Regions from separate parts of the Homo sapiens genome. Here regions 1, 2, 3 and 5 are each linked to region 4. The links are contacts of gene promoters, found by promoter capture Hi-C in blood cells and fetal thymus (Javierre and others, 2016). All regions are on one chromosome and are shown on one strand. The core of a region is centred on a gene start or on the middle of the fragment in contact, and the rest is flanking DNA. Distances in the headings are between cores, read along the strand shown.

Region 1 (3,912 bases), core at 559-3,058, 230 kb before region 4:
GGCCCCAGACGTCGATAGTGCTGAGGTTGAAGAAATCTGGCCTAAAGGCAGGCGTGGGACAAATGCTAACAGGACGTCACGAGTAACGACAGAAACGTTCCACCCTGTGTACAATGCCTTTGTTTGGAGGTGGTGTCCATGTTAAGCGGCCAACTTCATTCATAGGACAAGAGGGACTAGAGTGCTCAGAGGCCTGGGAAGGCAGCCTGGGGAAGTCTTCCCAAAGACTGCGAAATTCCGGGAAAGATCAAATGAATGGCTTGAATGTGTTGTTATGACACAGATGGAAAGAGCCTGCTCTAGGAGAAGGGATCCCCTATACACAGGGGATTCGTAGGCATGAGGGGTAAACCAGAGCCCAGGTATGGAGTGGAGGCTGATTGTTCCCCTCTTAGAGCACACTATGGACTGTTTGTATTCCCCAAATTCATGTGTGGAAACCCTAACCCTCAATGTGATGGTGTTAGGGGGTGGGGCCTTTGGGAGGTGATGAGGTCAGCAGGGTGAAGCCCTCATGAGTGGAATTAGTGCCCTTATGGAAGAGGCCCAGAGAGCTCTCTTACCCTTTTCCACCATGTGAGAAGATGGCCGCCTGCAACCTGGAAGACAGCCCTCATCAGAACCTGACCATGCTGGCCCCCCTGGTCTCGGACTCCCAGCCTCCAGGATGGTGAGACATATATTTCTGCTGTTTATAAGCTTCCCAGTCTATGGACTTTGTTACAGCAACCCAAACTCACTAAGACAGAGCACATAACTCTAGTATAGGTATCTCTGTACATACTTAAAAATCTACATCATTAGTCCACGCATTTCTTGAGATCTTATCTCATTTATCATTTTCGTAGCTTTGCAGAGCCCTATACAAAAGTTTGGTACACATTTATTAAATGAAAGGATGAAATAAATGGAAGTATCACACACTGACCCTGTCACCAGAAGAGACACAAACTGCTTTAATGCAGCACCTGCTCTGTAAGCAAAAAAGGAGGAGGGGAGGGGCAGGCAGGGGGCTGTTCTAGGGCCAGGGCTCTGGGAACACACACAGACTTGGGTGGCTCTAGTCTTGACACTTGGAGCTGGAGGTGTGGGTGGGTGAGAATACAAGCCTGCAACACGCGAGACAGCTCAGGACAGACTCTATCCATCTGGCGGGTGCTGAGCCACGGATGCAGAGGAAATCACCGAGGGAGGAGGTGACCAAGGACAGAAGAGCCCTGGGGAAACTAATGTTTAAAGACGTGGGCTGAGAAGCTACCACAGGAGTCAGAGGTAGCAGCGACACCAGGAGAGAAGGAGTGGTGCGCAAAGGCTAGCGCAGGATTAGGTAAATGTGCTGGTGCTGCACAGAGGAGGGGGTGAGCCCTGGGAAGTGGGGAGTCTCAGGCGGCGCCAGTGGGCACAGCTTCAGTGAAGGGTGCACGGGGACCAGATCTCAACAAGGAGCACGCAGGAGCTGAGGAACTTAACACAGCAAGACCCCTGCGCCTGCACTGAAGCTCAACGTCCTCCCTCCTCATAAGTAAATGACAAGCCTCCCATCCAGGCAGCTCCTGCCTGGGGCTGGCCACTCTCCTTCTTGGTAGCCAGTGACTCTCTCCTCTCTTCCTTCCTTCCCCTCTCTGTCTCCTCTGTCTATACACCCTCCTTAGCTCAACTTTCACTCTTCCTTCCTTTGCAACTTCCAGTGGCTCAGTTAGTAATCTCCAAGCAGGTTTTTAAAAACCCTCATGGTATGCTGGCTTTGAAATCACTCTCAGGGTGATTATCTGAATACACTTTCCACATAGTCTTTTTGTTAACTGGGGAACCCCTGAGTGGACAGTGCCAGAATCTTACAACTGCAATCTGCAGGGTGTGCCTTAAGGTCAAAATGTGTGTTTTTAGAATGCTCAATTTGGGGACAAGGAAATTACAGATTTTAAGAGAGCATTACATTTCTGAAATTTGGGATTAAAGTCTAAAAATTATAGGAGCCTTTGTGCTTCAAGTTCAAGATGTTCCCATGACGACAAACACCAAGCTAATTTGACTTAGCAGGATTATTCTCCGCCCAGTCTTTAGTACAAGGCTCTGATGCACACTTTGCCCAACCAGCTGCCGGGGCCCTGGGAGATTTTGCAGCCGCAAGAAGAGCCCAGAGCACAGCTTCTGGGGCGTCCTTGTGGGAGTTCATGGCAAGTTCATAGCAACTTAAAGAACTGTATAAAACACCCTTAAAGAGCTGAAAAACCACAACTGTTCATCAATTACAGCAAACACTAACTGATTTTCTAATAATTAACACTCAACCTGGTGGCTGGAAGAGTTCACGGGGGTGCCAGTGATGAAAACTGCAGCAGCAGCAGCCACAGTTAACGTTTAAGGCATACTCTGGACTTTTACATATACTGTATTACTTAATTCAAACCTCACAAATCCCCTGCAGCAATATCATTATCCTCATTTTACAGATGAAGAACCGAATTCAGGAGTGTGAAGCAACTTGTTTGGGGTTACAGCAAGTGGTGGGGCTGGTGACTTCAACCCTGTGTTCTCTCTATTAGGCCCCTAATTAACACCATCTGCAATTTATGAACCGCCAAAGTATACTGTTTTGGAGGACCAGTTGAGCATCTAAAAAAACAATAAATGTCAATGATTAATATAGTTACATGATTGATGACTTGATGAATGGTAGGCACTGGACAAGACCTTGAAGCTACTACGTTAAAACAGAGATGGAAACAATGGAAGGAACAGCTATGGTGACAAAGTAAATCTAAGTTCCCCTCACCTTGGTGTCGATCTATTCAGTTTGCAAGCATTGAGAAGACTCACAGATCTGTTTAATCTACATATAAGAGGCACAGAAATAAAGCAGAATAAATGTGAGTGCAATTAATAAAAGCGTGGAAAAGTATTTTGATAAGCTTCAGTAAATTGCAGGACGCACACATCAAAATCGAAAGACATTTTGGTTCGCAAATATAGACGTGGATATAATCCTTCACAACTCTTCCAAGATATTTGTCATTCCCATATTTGCATTAAAATGTTAAACTTTTTAAAAAAATCTTACTGTTGTCCCAGACGTAGAATAAAAAACAAGACATTTCCTTTTGAGAACCAAGGGCTCTTATGAATTAAAGAGGATTTACTAGGACTCAAAGTGAAGGACAGAAAATAAAGCTTAAAGACAAGACATTTGCAGTAACAAGGGCAGCCAGAGAGAGCAATACCGTACACTCACTGCAGGAAGCCTCCTCAAATAACCAGCAGGGAATATCAAAGAAGCTATGTTCTCTCTGGACGGCGAGTGAAAAATAATGCTCTTTATTTTGAAAGTGGTAGAAGTACTGGCTTGTGAGAGACTGTGCAATAATGCAGTATATTTTTTAGTGCTTAAGGCAAGTATTTTTTGTATAGAAATGCATAGACATCACCACTTATTTTGTTTTCCCTTCTGCTCTCTGTCCGCACACCCAAACCTGCAACCTTGTAAGTTATGAAAATAAATGGTTCTTTATATTACATTGCATATGCATTCAACAATTTGTGCCACTTAACACTTTAGACATAATAAAATTTCTGCAGGGAGACTGGTGACCATAAGAAAAACAGATGTCTTTCTTCTTATGGTTAATAAGAATTCTAAGCATAAGAAGCTACAATTAGGTTTTCTTTCATCATGTGATTGGGAATCAAAAATTGATTTTCCAAAATTTTGCAAAAGTATCCCAAACTTTTACAACCAAAACAGAAATCTGACAGACAGCTCTTATGTGTGACCAGAGATTTTCTGATGATTTCATTTGTCCTGACAGCTGGGGCGACTAACACTGGATAAAAGCAGTGATCTGCTCAACAGACACTTACTAGGCATCAACCATCCACTGTGCGCTATGCTGAGTGCTGGAGGGTCCACAAGGG
Region 2 (4,059 bases), core at 1,263-3,762, 210 kb before region 4:
TGAATAATGCTAACTTATGGAATACTGCTAGAGGCATGCACAGTGAGGCAATGCAGATGGCAGAAAGAACATGCCAGCCGGGCCCTGGGGTCCAGTCCCAGATTTAGCCCTTGTGTAGCCTGGGCAAATCACTAAACCTCCCAGAGGTTTCATTCTCATCTATAAAATGGGCACAATGATAGTTGCCTCACAGAAACGTGGAGGGGTGAAATGAGTGAATACATCCAAAATGTCTGCTGCAAAGTCCAGCCCTTAGTCAATCAATACATGGTACCTATGAGTAGTATTCTGAATATCAGTGTTAAGTGCCAGTGTAGCACAGGCTTCTCACAGCTAAAAATCTGTAGTTGGCTTTTGACAGTGGTTGCAGAGGCTATGTACTGAGGCTAGAGGGTTTTGATGTCTTGGAATGACAGGACTGACTTGCTTATTAACCTCCCCAACAGAAGCCTTCTGGTTATATTTAGTAATTCTCTGATCCATTAATTAATGAAGCCAATAATTATTATAATTCTTTGATATTCTAATTCATAGATCCACTAGTTGGTATAACTGATTGTAAAAGTTGCAAAGGCATATTAAAGTATTTCATATTAAAGTACTTTAAAAGGGAAGCTGCCTAACTAGTCTGAACAAACAAGCAAAATTTCAAATGGGAAATATGAGCTACTCACTGGTTAATGCATAACAAAATAGACAATCCCAGATACATGGCACAATGACTATATTTTCATCTACATTTTACATTTTAAAAATCCCTGCACTAAAATGAAAATCAGCTGTGTGTGTATACAATGGATTGATTGAACTCCAAACTACTCCCTGTCTTCTTGAAAACACATGTGAGTAAACCCCTGGCCTCCTGACATTTGCCATGAGCCCTGCTGTTGACCTCAGATTCAATGCAAAGAAAGAAGTGATTTTTTAGAACACAAATTTCTTCTGCTTATTAAGAAATACACACCACAGAACATTTAGAAACTAACTAAAAGTATTTAAAAATTCATAATCCTATTACTCAGGAAAAAACCCGTGAATTACTTTTGCTATACAGTACTTCATTCCAGTCTTCTTTGCATAAATTTTGTCTATTTAGTTGAAATGATACAGTATATACAGTTTTATAGCCTGCATTTGACTCAATGTAATGCGTAAGCATTTTCCCTCTTGTACCAGTAACACAAACATTTTTAAAGACCACACAGCATTTAATCATATGGAGGCACCATCATCTCCTGGCCATGCCCCTACTGCTTGCTGCTCCCTTATTGTTTCCTATCCAGTTTTTCTCCGTTGCGCACAGTGCTGCAATGAATTCCCTTACTCATCCATCATTTGTCTGTATTTACGGTCACAACAGCAATATCTAAGGGGTCTGTTCACTGTATTCTGCTACCAGAGTATTGCCCCACTCCAACCACAACTCTGAAACACTTCCGTATTAGCAAGAATTTTAATACAGCCCTTCGTGAACGATTTGATTCTCTTTTCTCCACTACATGGTAATCCAAGCTCAGCAAAGTGGAAACATTCCAAGTCATTCTATCCAAGAGTAAATCCAACATGAACCAAGCCAGCTTTATGGGCTGAGGTTCACCACAGTGAAGGTGTGTGATATGGTAGCCGGTTCTTCCTATTTTAAAAAATATCAAAGGAAAAGGAGAAAGCAGAGTCTGGGGAGCTCACAGAGACTGAGGAAATCCTAAGACCCAGAGCAGTATCCTCAAGGGAAAGAAGACCTGGGTAACTGGTGCAAGCAGGCCAACCGCAGGGACAGGGGAACAAGTGACAGCTCCCTCTCTACAGAATACCTATCCACAGGCCCAGCACATTACAGTGGGCCACAATCTCATCCCATTTCAGGAAGCCTTGACCTTAGCTGTCAGTGAATTATTTCCATGAACCTGCAGTTCTCATCGTTATACTAGTCAAGGCATATGAAGAATGATAGTCAGCCAAAGCTTAGAGGTCATGATAACATTCTTCAAATAAGTGGAGTATTATTGTGGAAAGGAATCAGAATGATTATCTATGGCTCCACAGGTACTGCTGAGGCCAGTGAGTGTTGACTGCAGTCTAAAAACTAGCTAGCGGCTACGGCAGCAGAAAGACACGCGCTCTTCCCGCACTGGCTTTGAGCAGGACCCCCAGTGAGTACCTGCCTGCTTCTTGGTGGCACAGCCACGCCCAGCATTGGGCAGACAGCAAAAGCTGTACACCCAAACCTCAACATACTGAGTGAGACCTAAGCATTAAAAAACTAACTGTGGGGGAAAAAATCATTTGATATTTAAAAATAAGAATGCAGGTCAGATGCGGTGGCTCATGCCTGTAATCCCAGCACTTTGGGAGGCCGAGGCAGGCGGATCACCTAAGGTCAGGAGTTCAAAACCGGCCTGGCCAACATGGTGAAACCCCGTCTCTACTAAAAATACAAAAAAATTAGCAGGTGTGGTGGCGTGTGCCTGTAGTCCCAGCAACTCGGGAAGCTGAGGCTGGAGAATCGCTTGAACCCGGGAGGCGGAGGTTGCAGAGAACCAAGATCACGCCACTGCACTCCAGCTTGGGTGACACAGCAAGAATCTGTCTCAGAAATAAAAATAAGAATGTCATGTGTCCAGGCTACTTCAAGTCTATATGAGCATGGCAGGCCAAAATATTATGAAGTGATAATTGTGTGGCCACTTAAAACCAAAGGAGATTTGCCTAAAATCCATCTTGCCTAAAAGACTCCCCACCCCAACCATGACCACAGAGAGCCAGCTCTAAAGACAGACAGAGGTGTGGGCACCAGTTCCCAAGTGCCCACGTGGCAGCTGCCTCAAAGATGAGCACAGCCAGGGCAGCTGCTGCAGGCACACCCCTCCCACGGGCACACCCCTCCCGTGGGCATGCCCCTCCCACGGGCACGCCCCTCCTGCCCCTGTTTCCACTGTGCTCTAATTAGCTGCACAGAAAGTAGAGAGCCCAAGGTCCCTCCACTCAGGGGATGCAGCCCATTCACCTGCTTTCTTGTGAATCTTTTTTTTACTTCTTGGTGTGACCTTCTGGCAACTAAGCTTTGATTTGCTTACAGTTAGAAAAAGAATGTTTATAAAGAAATATCAGATGACTATGAAAACATTTATTTTTCTGTGCAGTTATGAAATTCAAATCATTCTTAATCAAGAAAACAAAACTCTTGGGCACACCCTGTTATTTTCTTCCTGTAGTTTTCTAAAAATAAGGAAGTTTTAGAGGTCTGAAGATTTATATAAAACAGCTCCTTCAAATGTACCCTTTCAGACACAGCAGTCATCAGATTTATTTTTGGAAAGCTGGTAGGTCAAGAATACTTAAAATAATGCGGTTTCTATTTAAAATACCTGAATCACTTTGTAACTCAGGAGGAAAAAAGATTACTTAAAATGATTATTCAAAATGCAGACATCAGCCCAACAGGTGTAGCCAGCCATCTCACACGAAGCTGGTGATAACATCTGGGATGACAAAGAAATTGATTTCTTCCCACAGATGTGTGGAAATGCAGCCAAGTACTTGAGAAAAAAAAACTCAAAGACGCAACCTTAGACAGTCCTCCCTCCCAACTCTAAGGAAAATACACATTAACTGTGAAATAATTTGTTAAATTGAAATAACAATGAAAGGTATTCCTTTTGTTTGTTTTTGTTTTGAGATGGGGTCTTGCTCTGTCACCCGGCTGGAGTGCAGTGGTGCTCTCTGCAGCCTTGGCCTCCTAGGCTCAAGCAATCCTCCTACCTCAGCCTCCTGAGTAGCTGGGACCACGGGCACTTGCTACCACATCCAGCTAATTTTTAAATTTTTTGTAGGGATGAGGTCTCACTATGTTGCCTAGATGGGTCTTGAACTCCTGGGCTCAGGTGATCTGACCGCCTCAGCCTTCCAAAGTGCTGGGATTACAGGCGTGTGCCACTGTGCCCAGCCAATGAAAGGTATTTTTAAAGGAACATCTAAATGTTGTAATCTCAAAAAACGTTTTAGCCAAAGGCATCTTACAGCCAAGACGAATTCTCTTTTCTACAGTTAGTCACGAGGAAG
Region 3 (3,618 bases), core at 261-2,760, 140 kb after region 4:
TAAACTCTGTGATCTGGTCCTAACCCACATTTTAGATCCTATCAGAAGCTATTGCCTTTCAATTCATCACATTCCAGAAAGACTCCTCTCCATTTCCCCTGATTCTCAATTCCTTTGCTCACTTGCGTACTTCCAACTTATTGCTCCATCCTCCCCCTCTGCTCTCGCTGCTCAAATGCAACTCTTCCTTCAAGGTCATATATAGTTTGTTTCCTGCCTCTGACAGACCTGCACGTCAACTCAATTGCATTTCATGTGGCATGGAGTGTAGCCCGTTCTTGTGTCTAACATTTAATGTCGGTCAATTTGAAGCTAATTAAAAAATTCACCTGTAGGCTGGGCACGGTGGCTCATGCCTGTAATCGCAGCACTTTGGGAGGCTGGGGCGAGCAGATCACCTGAGGTCGGGAGTTTGACACCTGCCTGACCAACATGGAGAAACCCTGTCTCTACTAAAAATACAAAATTAGCCAGGCCTGGTGGTGCATGCCTGTAATCCCAGCTACTCGGGAGGCTGAGGCAGGAGAATTGCTTGAACCCAGGAGGCGGAGGTTGTGGTGAGTTAAGATTGCACCGCTGCACTCCAGCCTGGGCAACAAGAGTGAAACTCTGTCTCAAAAAAAAAAAAAAAATTCACCTGTACTGAACTCATCATTCCCTCAAATATACTGGAAAAAAAAAAAAAGTAGCTCTATCATAACTGGAAGATTTCACAGCAGTTTAATGAATGGAACTAAGAACCGAGAACATGGTTCTAAGAACCAGGAACTACTGGAACTAAGAACCAAGTAACAAAGAAAGACAAATGAGTCAATAGGGTCTGTGCCTTCAAAGAGTTCAGTATGATAGGTGGACTGACCCTGTGACAAAACATTTCTAACTTTCTGTTTTGTAATTGTTCCAATTTTGCTCACTCCTTCTGTTTATTTCCAATATTGACATGAACTAACTTTGGGTTCTAGACATGTGACAGCACCTCAACCCAAGTGTGTTTCAAAGAGGCCTTGCCTGCAAGGGCAGCTGGGCTGGGCCGGGCTGGTGCTGTCCGGGCAGCACACCACCCCCTACTGCCCCCCCGCATCTGCTGTGGCTTGGTGCTTGGGAGAGGACTCCTGCTGCTGTGATGGGGGTAAATAGTCTCTAAAAATAAAATTGCAGCAACAGTTCTCCTACAGCCATAATTATACTTTTATATATGTTACTGAGTACATTTTTATTGCCAGTAATGTTTTCTGTACTGATAGCTTCGTAAGAGCACAATTTTAGAATCTATGATCAGGTGATGAACAGAAAGACAATGCTGATGGAAAAGTTTTGTATGAGCTCTAAAGTTAAGATTTAAGGCCAATTTAGATCTGAAAAGAAACAATGTTGGCTAAGAATTTAAAGTTTTGCATATAAACACATAAAACTAAAAAAACATCAGAACAGGAAATTACCTGCTGCTTTGTTCTCTTCTTTGGGAGAAACAACCTGTTACAAAAGAAAATACACAATTGTTAACTGGGATCCTGAGTATGATGAGAAAAAAATGGATTATCCAGGTACCACCAGAATCAGCGACGGCAGTCACTGTGAACAGCCTCGGACAAAAATTATTTCTAGCCTGAACTTTCAGGGCAAACCACGGCACCTACCAGATCATCATTTCTGCTCCCTTCCTCTTTCCATTTACCAAATAAGACAGAATGACTAGCTTTCCTGAATGGTGAGTTCTGAGTAAACACTAAGTTTCAGGACCACTTGGGTGCAGGAAACGGTCCACTGTTTGGGGTCAGGCAGCTGCACAGAAGCAGCATGCACAACGACACTGCTAGGACACGGCAACGACACCGACAGGCTTCAGAACCCTGGCAGGGATGAAACAGGCAGCAGGGCTGGAGCCGGGCAGAGAGCCCCCTCCTGGTTCTCAGAGGCAGCCTGTCCTTGGAGCACCTTTGTTTTCAGGCTCCCCACCGACAAGCAGTCGGACTGCGAGTTTCGGCGAACACCCCCTGCTTCCGGTGTTCCCTGTGCTCGCTTAGAAATGGGAACAGTGCTCAGGTGTTGCCGCCACCTGGAAAGCCTGCTCTACCCAGGGCCTGCTTTAGCCCACTCACCACGGCTCGCTTAACCTGTCGGGGAGAACTGGGCTGCGGAGAGGGTTTCTTGGGCTGTTGGGCTGGCTGCTGCTGCTGGGCTGGTTGCTGGGGGTCCTTCTGCTGGGGCTGGGATGGTTCGGAGCTTTGAGACGGCTGTGACTGCTGTACTTGCGGCACTTGTGGTGTAGGCTGAAGAGATGGGGGCTGTTGCAGCTGATGGGGGGTGTGATGAGGCATCTGTTGTTTTCCTTGTGAGTAAAGATCCAGGATTTGGTGGCAGATGTCTAAATGATAGCCAACAATTACATTTTACACAAATTGGTATTTTAAATAAAATTTTACCTGGATAAAGAATCAGTTATGATACCCCTACGAGGACCTAAGCATGAATCACATTTACAACTCACCCCATCTTCGTTGTGTGCAACACTGGTGTGTATTTTTAGTTTACCAAAAGTATGTGTTTGGACAAAGTGGAAACTATTAGATAATTTAATTAATGATGCTTCTGAAATATTGCTCACATATGTCTATCTGGGAAAATCCATTCTTGGGACTCAGGGTACACATGGAAGAATCATCTCAACATGGAACACCCTCACGAGAACGCTTAGCATGCCTGGTACCTTCCAAAACGTCGACCGGGACATCTTGAACAAACTGCTCCCACCATCTCCTATACATGGGTTTGGAGGTCCATTCTTGTATTTCAAATTTGCACAAACGTCCTGCGAGATACATCACTGCTACTGCTATGATCTCTGGTTCCCACTGCAGTGACAAGGTGGTGCAGAGACTAGTTCAACAAGAAAAAAAAAGGTTAGATAATATGATCTAATATTTATGATTAAACCAGTGCATGGAGATGCCATAACTAACCATTAATTTGCTTATTCTCCCCTAAATTTAATTAAAGTACTATAAATAAATAAACTCAAGTCTTTACTCTTCTAAAGGTACCCGACTAAGTTACTTTAACCATAGTTAGTAATTTCTCTATTCCTTAAAGAATCAGAAGAATTCTAGCACATCCAAAAATTGCTACACCAATGAAAATGACTTATGTTATTTAAACTGTTGAAATCCTAGCCACTCAACTGTTTCTTCAAATGAAATCTTATGGAGGAAGTCAAATGTAAGAGAAGCTTCACTGACTGCAGTGGGATGGGGCTGGCAGCAACTCCATTCACAGGCATTCTGTTTCCCACCACGGCCCCTCATTAGATCCCTGGCCTCTCAAAAGAGTGTTAAGGCTCTAAAACTATACCAGGAAGTATATTTTTGCAAAACCAAATGGGCTCTAAGTAATTAGTTTTCAAAATTCTCCAGTGTATTGTTTTGGACTTATGTTTCAGACTGGTGATAAAATTTCAGCACCTCACAACACCATGACACGGCAGGGCAGAAGGAAACCCTCTGCCGGGAAGCAGATGACCTGGACGTCAGCCCCAGCTTTGCCATTAACTGGCTCCTCAAGCCAGGGCAAGTCAGTTTCTTCTGACACAAAATGAGGGGTTTAGATGAAATGGTCCATAAA
Region 4 (3,539 bases), core at 117-2,616:
CTTCATTTTAAAGATATTGTGAGGTGCAGCAGTGACCTGCCCAGGTCACGAAGCTGGGGAAGTGACAGAGCCAGGATCAAACTCCAACTCCAAGTCAGCCTTCTTGCCCTTCCCCACACCACCTGCCCCTGCTGGCCGAAGGCTGGGACACGGCCCTGGCCCCTGGGGCCTCTCCACCCCAGGCCTCTCACTGCCCAGATGCTGAGGCAGGAATGCCTTGGGGCTGCCCGTCCTGCTCCATTTCTGCATTCAGCCAGGCAACATTTGCCCACTTGGGTGTGGTCAGGCCCTGGGGCCTCAGACTCCCACAAGAGGAAAACAAATAGCGGTGGCACCACCAGGTGTGCACAGAAGCAGGGGCTCCACCCTCAGAGGGAAGATGGGGGGCCCAGGGGCTTCAACAAAGAGCTGTCGCTCAGTCTTGAGAGAGCTTCTGCAGGCCAGGGCGCCATCCCCAGGAGAGGGCACAGCACCCACAGAGGTGGTGGCGGAAGTGGCAAGGGCATCAGGATGGGGGTGAGACGCTCGTGGGGGACAGTGGCCCCAACCCCCTCAACAAACCCGGGCCACACGTTGACCACGCCCACGCCAGGGCCCCCTGCTTTCACTGCCCCGGGGACAACACAAAGGAGCACTGACCGGGACAGATGCCTCTCCACCTTGGTACCCCGACAAGGGTGCAGCTGCTCGGGGTGGGACGCTGAGGGGTCGACTCCAGGGGACTGGGGCAGAAGAGCCCCCAACCTCTGAGGAAATGATGACATCATCTGTCCGTCCGTCCGTCCTTCCTGCTTCAGGAGGGGAAACTGAGGCCCCGAGAAGGCCCAAGTCACAAAACTAATGAATGGCAAAGCCAAGAGTCGTCCTGGGATGCGCGGTCTCCCCGCCCCGTGCCAAATGACTCCCTGTTGGGGCTTAGAGTTCCCGAGTCCGCCGCCCACTCTTGGCCCTCGCCCCCGCGGGGTTCCGATCTCTGCTCCAGGACTCGGCCTCCCGCGCCCCGCCCCGCCCGGTGGCCGCGCGCCCGCTCACCTGGCACAGCAGGTCCCTCGCGTAGCCGGCGCACGCGGCCCACTCGGCGGCGTCCACGCGGCTCGCCAGGGCCCAGAAGCGGCGGGTCAGCTCGGCGTCGCGCCCCTCATCGCAGCAGCCGAAGTCCGAGTACTGCGCGCAGAGGCGCAGCGGCTGCGTCGGCCGGAAGGGCGGCCTGAAGTCCAGGCACTGCGGATGCGCGGCGGCCCCGAGCACCCAAAGCGCCAGCAGCGCCCCGGCCCTGGCCCGGGCCATCGCTACGCCCCGCGGGGGAAGAGGCGGAGGGACGGCAGCCCCGGTCCCCTCCCGGGGCGCTCGCGGCGGCAGGGAAGGGGCGGGCGCTCCCCTTCCCTACACGCAGGGCCTCGAGTTTGGGGACCTCCCCTTCTAGGAGGTCACCTCTGGTCGGGGACACTCGGCGGGACTGAAGGAAGAGGGACGCGGCGCAGAATGCGGCACGACCTCTTTTAACCGCTTTCCAAATTCGATGGGAGTGGCCCGGTCTGTTTAAAGCCCCGGTGTGTTTTCCCGGTTCCGCCTGGGGCCCTGCTTCCTCCCCACAGGGCGCTCTTTAGCCAGGGAGGCGCAGGGCCAGAGGCCTGGACTCCTGGGCTTCGGTTCCACCTCCCACTGGGCTAGGGAAACGGATGCCCGCAGCCCGTCCCCGAAAGCTCCCACGTAACATTTTAAAAATGGGGGTGCGAGGGAAAGAACAGGGGGTGTTGCCCCAGGACTCTCAGGGAGAAGTGAAACCTGGCGTAGGGGTGGGGAGGGAGGACGGAGCAGTCTCCGCAGTCCACCCTTTGCCCTTACTGTGGGCTTCTTCCCAGTCTCTGCTCCTGGGGCAGCGGATTCTCCTGCAGCCCAGGACCCACTGGGGCTCCCCACTTCCACTCTCGCATAGGGAGCACTGATGAATCTACCTCCTGGGATGGGCATCCAGCCCTTTGTTCCGCTGCCCCCGCTGGAGATTCAGACCCAACCCCGCCCCACCCCCCCACACACATACAGACGCACACACGCTGTCTTACCTACCCCAGAATCTCATGGCACCAAAACCACCCACACAGACAAACACACACACACTGTCTCACCTACCCTAGAATCTCACAGCACCAAAACCACCCAGGCATTTTTCTCAAGTGGACCTCAGCGTTTGCTTCTCCCTGGAGTGTCCTTCCCCATCTTCTCTGTCCAGTGAGCTCCTACTCCATCTTCATGGCCCCAACGCACACATCCGTCCTCTGCAGGTCTCTTTGGACTGTCCTGGGGGATCATGTTTCTGTCTTTGGGCCCATGCTCCTGGCAGAGCTGGGGGTGGATGAGATGCGGCAGGGCTGGAGCACTCAGAGGTCTGTGGCTCTGGCCTGAACAGGTGCAGTGTAAGAGTCAGGGTCTCCGCACAGCCAAACATCTCTGAGTATTTGAAACACGGGGAATTTAACGCAGGGACTTGAAGCCAAAGAGGCTAAGAAGCCATACAGGGCTCAGTGAAGTAACCTTGAGATCAGCAACAGTAGGAACAGTCCCCAGGTCCTTGATGCAGGAAGAGCAGATGTTACTGGAGCCAAGGAGCTATGGTCACCTTGTCAAAGCTGGACCCTCACAAGGCCTGTCTGGCCACAGCTGGAGATAGCCACTGTCAGAGATTCTGCACAGACAGAGGAGGAGAAATACCCCGGCTTCTCCCTGCCACTTCCCCTCCAACTCCCACCTGTGGCTTTCATTGGCTGAACCTAGCAGAGGGCTGCTAGGGTGGGAAATGCGGCCTGCAACGGCTTCCTGCACAGACAGCTGGGAATAGGCAGAGCCAGGATGGAATCGGAGGGCACGATGGCGCCTACTTCCCAGCTGGGACTCAGAACTGGGTGATAGTCACACATCAACACAGGGCTCCAGATGAGTGTACAGAGGTGGAAGTGACACAGAGCCTGGGCCACAGCCATGAGGTTTGGGCTCCTACAGCCACAGAAAATGTCAAACACAGCCCAGCCCCAGCCAGAGTAACATAAATCCTCACCCTAATACCTATTTACCTCGGTTTCTGTTATCTAGTACATCCTGATTGGCTTTCCAGAAAAACAACAAGGCATGAAAAAAAGATAAGAAAAGTCACAGTCAGGAGCCGGGCACAGTGGCTCACGCCTGTAATCCCAGAACTTTGGGAGGCTGAGGCGGGCGGATCACCCGAGGTCAGGAGTTCGAAACCAGCCTGGTCAACATGGTGAAATCTCGTCTCTACTAAAAATACAAAAATTAGCCAGGCGTGGTGGCACGCGCCTATAATCCCAGCTACTGGGAGGCTGAGGCATGAGAATCGCTTGAACCCAGGAGGCGGAGGCTGTAGTGAGCTGAGATCGTGCCATTGCACTCCAGCCTGGGTGACAGAGCGAGACTCTGTCTCAAAAAAGAAAAAAAAAAGTCAGTCAGAAGGAGCATCAGAGCCAGCCTGGGACATGACACAGATGCTGAAATTACCAGACATGGAATTTAAAATAACTATGACT
Region 5 (3,633 bases), core at 1,113-3,612, 250 kb before region 4:
AGCTACAAGATTACTTGGGCAGTAACTCGGACTTTGTCAAAACAAAAGATCTTTTTCTGCATTTCAGGAGTCTGCCTTTTTATGTAAATAAAACATTCCCGATGACTTCAGGAGGTGGAGGGCCTTGTTGATAATTTAACAGTAAGGAGAGGTCTACCAAGTTTTAGAATTTGAATGGCCAATTTTTGACAATAGTACCATGGGAACTGACACTTTAATTTGTGCATCTAAATGTGTCTGAATTTTAGAAATGAAAAATGACAAGTAAAATGGAATCTCACATATGGGTTATTCTTTTAAAGTCTGTTTTGTTGCTAAGGTGTCACCATGCCTAAATTCATAAGATGGTCACCACCAAATAATATTAAGAGCTTAACAGACCAGGTGTGGTGGCTCACGCCTGTAATCCCAGCACTTTGGGAGGCTGAGGCAGGTGGATCGCCTGAGGTCAGGAGTTCGAGACCAGCCTGACCAACATGGTGAAACCCTGTCTCTACAAAATACAAAAAATTAGCCGGGCGTGGTAGTGCATGCCTGTAATCCCAGCTACTTGGGAGGCTGAGGCAGGAAATCGCTTGAACCCGGGAGGTGGAGGTTGCAGTGAGCCAAGATTGCACTACTGCACTCCAGCCTGGGCAACAAGAGCAAAACTCTGTCTCAAAAAAAAAAAAAAAAAAAAAAAAGAGCTTAATATTCTTGGGCAAAACAGGCATCAATTATGTACAAATAAGATTTAGAATTGTTATAATTGGTTTAAAATCCTCTCAACTGTGTTCCTAGGTTATTTACGCTAATTTTTCTCTTCCTTAATAGAAGAAAACATCATAGAGCAATCAGTAGATTTATCAGTAAGAAAAGGTGCTGGCCTTGGACCTAGTAGAAACACTAGGCAGGCGTTAGGTGAACCAAGTTCTAGTTCAGTCTAATCTCTAAGCAGCTGGGTGTCCGCGGGCATTCACTAGGCCTCTCTGGATTTCTCTATGGGTAAACTGAAAGATAACTATAATATTTTTCTCTAGTTCTAAAGTACCGATTCAATTTCAATGCCAGAAACTGAAATATACTTTTAAGCCACTAGAGGGAGGAACAAATAGCTTACCACTAATTTCAAAGAATTTTTCAAAGCCATTTAACATTAAAAAAAAAAAAATTGAAAGACCCATTCAATTTAAGTAAATTTATTTACATAATAGTGGTCTGATTTCCATTATTTCTGTTAACTCTTTTCAAGTATAAAATATTAATGCAGGTCAGGCGCAGTGGTTCACGCCAGTAATCCCAGTACTTTGGGAGGCTGAGGTGGGCAGATCGCTTGAGCCCAGAAGTTTGAGACCAGCCTGGGCGATGTGGTGAAACGCTGTCTCTACCAAAAATACAAAAATTAACCGGGCGAGGTGGCGTGTGCCTGTACTCCCAGCTACTCAGGAGGCTGAGGTGGGAGGATCACTTGAGCCTGTGGGGGCAGAGGTGGCAATGACCCGTGATTGTGCCACTGCATTCCAGCCTGGGTGACAGAGTGAGACCCTGTCTCAAGAAAAAAAAAAAAATTAATGGAAAATAGCATAAGATTAATATTTAAAATCCAATGTTACTAAAATATTTTCTGAAATATGGTAGTATTCATTTTTTCTGGATGAAAACATGTTGATAAAATGTATGTACTTAAATTAGTTTCAGATAAAATATTATGCAATAACAAGCTATATAAAAGTAGATATCAAAAAAGCTACAAGCTCCCTCTCTAACGCCTTAAAATGCAAATTAAAGTCTTGCTGAAGTGCTTGCAAAATCTGTGCTAAAAACCTCCTAGTAGCTTTTGTGACTGCACACAGACACAAACTTCACGGGTTAAAGTCACGACTGTTAAACGACATTCACAGGACAGGGCAGAGGGTGGCTGAAATTTGGCAAAATGTTGTACATTCAAATTATTATTATAATTTTAACTTTATTAAATGTTTACCTTCATATTTTTAATACTTATCATATAAATAAACATTTTAAGAATTAGCGAATTCTTTGTTCAGAACAATGCTATTTAAAAATCTGATGAAATTAAGATGAGCTCCAGGGATTTTTAAGGTCACAGTCAGTATTTTTTTTTTTTTTTTTTGAGACTTAGTCTCTCTCTGTCACCCAGGATGGAGTGCAGTGGCATGATCTTGGCTCACTGCAACCTCCGCCTCCCGGGTTCAAGTGATTCTCCTGCTTCAGCCTCCAGAGTAGCTGGGACTACGGTCATGTGACACCACGCCTGGCTAATTTTTGTATTTTTGGTAGAGACGGGTTTCACTATGTTGGCTAGGCTGGTCTCAAACTTCTGACCTCAAGAGATCCAGCCTGCCTTGGCATCCCAAAGTGCTGGGATTACAGGCGTGAGCCACCGCACCCTGCCACACAATAAGTCTTCTAATTTACAATAAAAAATTCTAGTGAGGGGTTCAGAAGTTTTCAGATACCATAATTATATCTAAGCAGCCTTACTCAGCAGCACAATGTTTTCTAAAAATTACTTTGTGTTACCAGTTCATTATGAAACAATGAAAAGGTAACGTAACTCACTTTTCCATCCTTCGATGTGCCCGCAACTTGTCCTGTTGCTATCGTGATCCGATCAGGATGAACTGCTAGGCTAAGAAAAGGATATTTACAAAACATCTACATGTTGCAGGTAAGTTTTACTTTTCCCTTGCTCAAATATAATCTAGTCAAAAATTTAAATATAAGAAATATATAATGCCTAACTTCTTACAGACTCATGACAAATTCTCTGAGCACCACGACGTTAGACAACTAGTACCTAATTCATTTCATCTTAATTCCCTTATTTCTTCTTAAGAATTTTCAAACTGAAGGAAAAAGCATCCTCTGCTGGGAAAATACCATTTCAATCTCAGAACCACTACATTAGTCTACAATCTTTATTAAAAAGTCATGTTGAGTACATAAATAGGAAAGATACCATCTTTCGTGAACAGGATTTTTATCATTGACCAAGGAACCAGGACAAATACAAATATATAAATCCATCTCTTCACGCATCCATCCTTCCAAGATATGTAATATGCCTACCAAAAGCTATAAATGAATTATGGGAAGAGCCGACTCAGCCACAAACATGAGGCAACACATTTTTATGTTTATCAAAAAATAAAGACCCAAATTAGAAGCCTTTAATACATGATGTGTTAAGAAGGCCTCCAAAGAGGTGGCGCTGTTTGTTGAGACAATGTGGTCCGTGAAGCTCATGCGTTGGTGAGGCTGGAAAATTAAACATGAGAGGGGTCTCACGGAGCGCAGTAGTGAGCGGACCACAAGGAGACCACACAGAAGAGCTCTCCCAAAGACCTCATTTCCTCAGACCCTCTTCCTTCTCTTTAGTTATGTCCCAATACTGACCGTGTTCTGCTAATGCTATTTCCACCTGTGCAACAGGAATCACATTTATTTATTTATTTATTTTAGAGACAGGGTTTCACTGTTGCCCAGGATGGTCTGGAACTCCTGGCCTCAAGCGATCCTCCTACCTTCGCCTTCTGAGTCGCAGGAATGACCTGTTTCAGGACTTACCACTTCACGTCATCGTTGTGGCCAGCGTAATGCCTCTGCAGTTGCTCCTCCACGTTGTATAAC

What was found. The method cuts DNA at HindIII sites, captures the fragments that hold promoters and counts their contacts. A CHiCAGO score of 5 or more calls a contact.
Region 1: a fragment that was not itself captured here is called in contact with the fragment with the promoter of HHIPL1 in region 4 in 7 of 17 cell types (endothelial precursors, total CD4 T cells, M2 macrophages and 4 more); the score reaches 8.6 in endothelial precursors.
Region 2: a fragment that was not itself captured here is called in contact with the fragment with the promoter of HHIPL1 in region 4 in 1 of 17 cell types (endothelial precursors); the score reaches 6.7 in endothelial precursors.
Region 3: a contact is called between a fragment that was not itself captured here and the fragment with the promoter of HHIPL1 in region 4, in 1 of 17 cell types (endothelial precursors). The highest score is 8.4, in endothelial precursors.
Region 5: a fragment that was not itself captured here is called in contact with the fragment with the promoter of HHIPL1 in region 4 in 1 of 17 cell types (endothelial precursors); the score reaches 5.3 in endothelial precursors.

What each region holds. Positions count from the first base shown.
Region 1 is chr14:99,873,852-99,877,763 of GRCh38, reverse strand. All of the region lies in intron 3 of EML1 (EMAP like 1), which reads right to left. Among named protein-coding and RNA genes, the nearest start is that of EML1, 82 kb to the right of the region's middle. RefSeq lists an enhancer at 782-1,334. The HindIII fragment of the contact is 2,213 bases long and covers 702-2,914 here.
Region 2 is chr14:99,852,219-99,856,277 of GRCh38, reverse strand. The region is part of intron 2 of EML1 (EMAP like 1); the gene reads right to left. Among named protein-coding and RNA genes, the nearest start is that of EML1, 61 kb to the right of the region's middle. The HindIII fragment of the contact is 1,098 bases long and covers 1,964-3,061 here.
Region 3 is chr14:99,501,466-99,505,083 of GRCh38, reverse strand. It overlaps CCNK (cyclin K), which reads right to left. Exons shown (of 11, transcript NM_001099402.2): 7 at 2,708-2,877; 8 at 2,100-2,365; 9 at 1,440-1,473. It overlaps CCDC85C (coiled-coil domain containing 85C), which reads left to right. Exons shown (of 6, transcript NM_001144995.2): 6 at 1-3,618. Among named protein-coding and RNA genes, the nearest start is that of CCNK, 22 kb to the right of the region's middle. RefSeq lists enhancers at 1,476-1,976, 1,977-2,477. The HindIII fragment of the contact is 3,437 bases long and covers 1-3,228 here.
Region 4 is chr14:99,642,956-99,646,494 of GRCh38, reverse strand. HHIPL1 (HHIP like 1) reads right to left here and starts at 1,366. Exons shown (of 9, transcript NM_001127258.3): 1 at 1,033-1,366. The coding sequence starts at 1,287. The HindIII fragment of the contact is 13,444 bases long and covers 1-3,539 here.
Region 5 is chr14:99,897,232-99,900,864 of GRCh38, reverse strand. It overlaps EML1 (EMAP like 1), which reads right to left. Exons shown (of 22, transcript NM_004434.3): 7 at 3,571-3,633; 8 at 2,563-2,632. Among named protein-coding and RNA genes, the nearest start is that of EML1, 110 kb to the right of the region's middle. The HindIII fragment of the contact is 7,299 bases long and covers 1-3,633 here.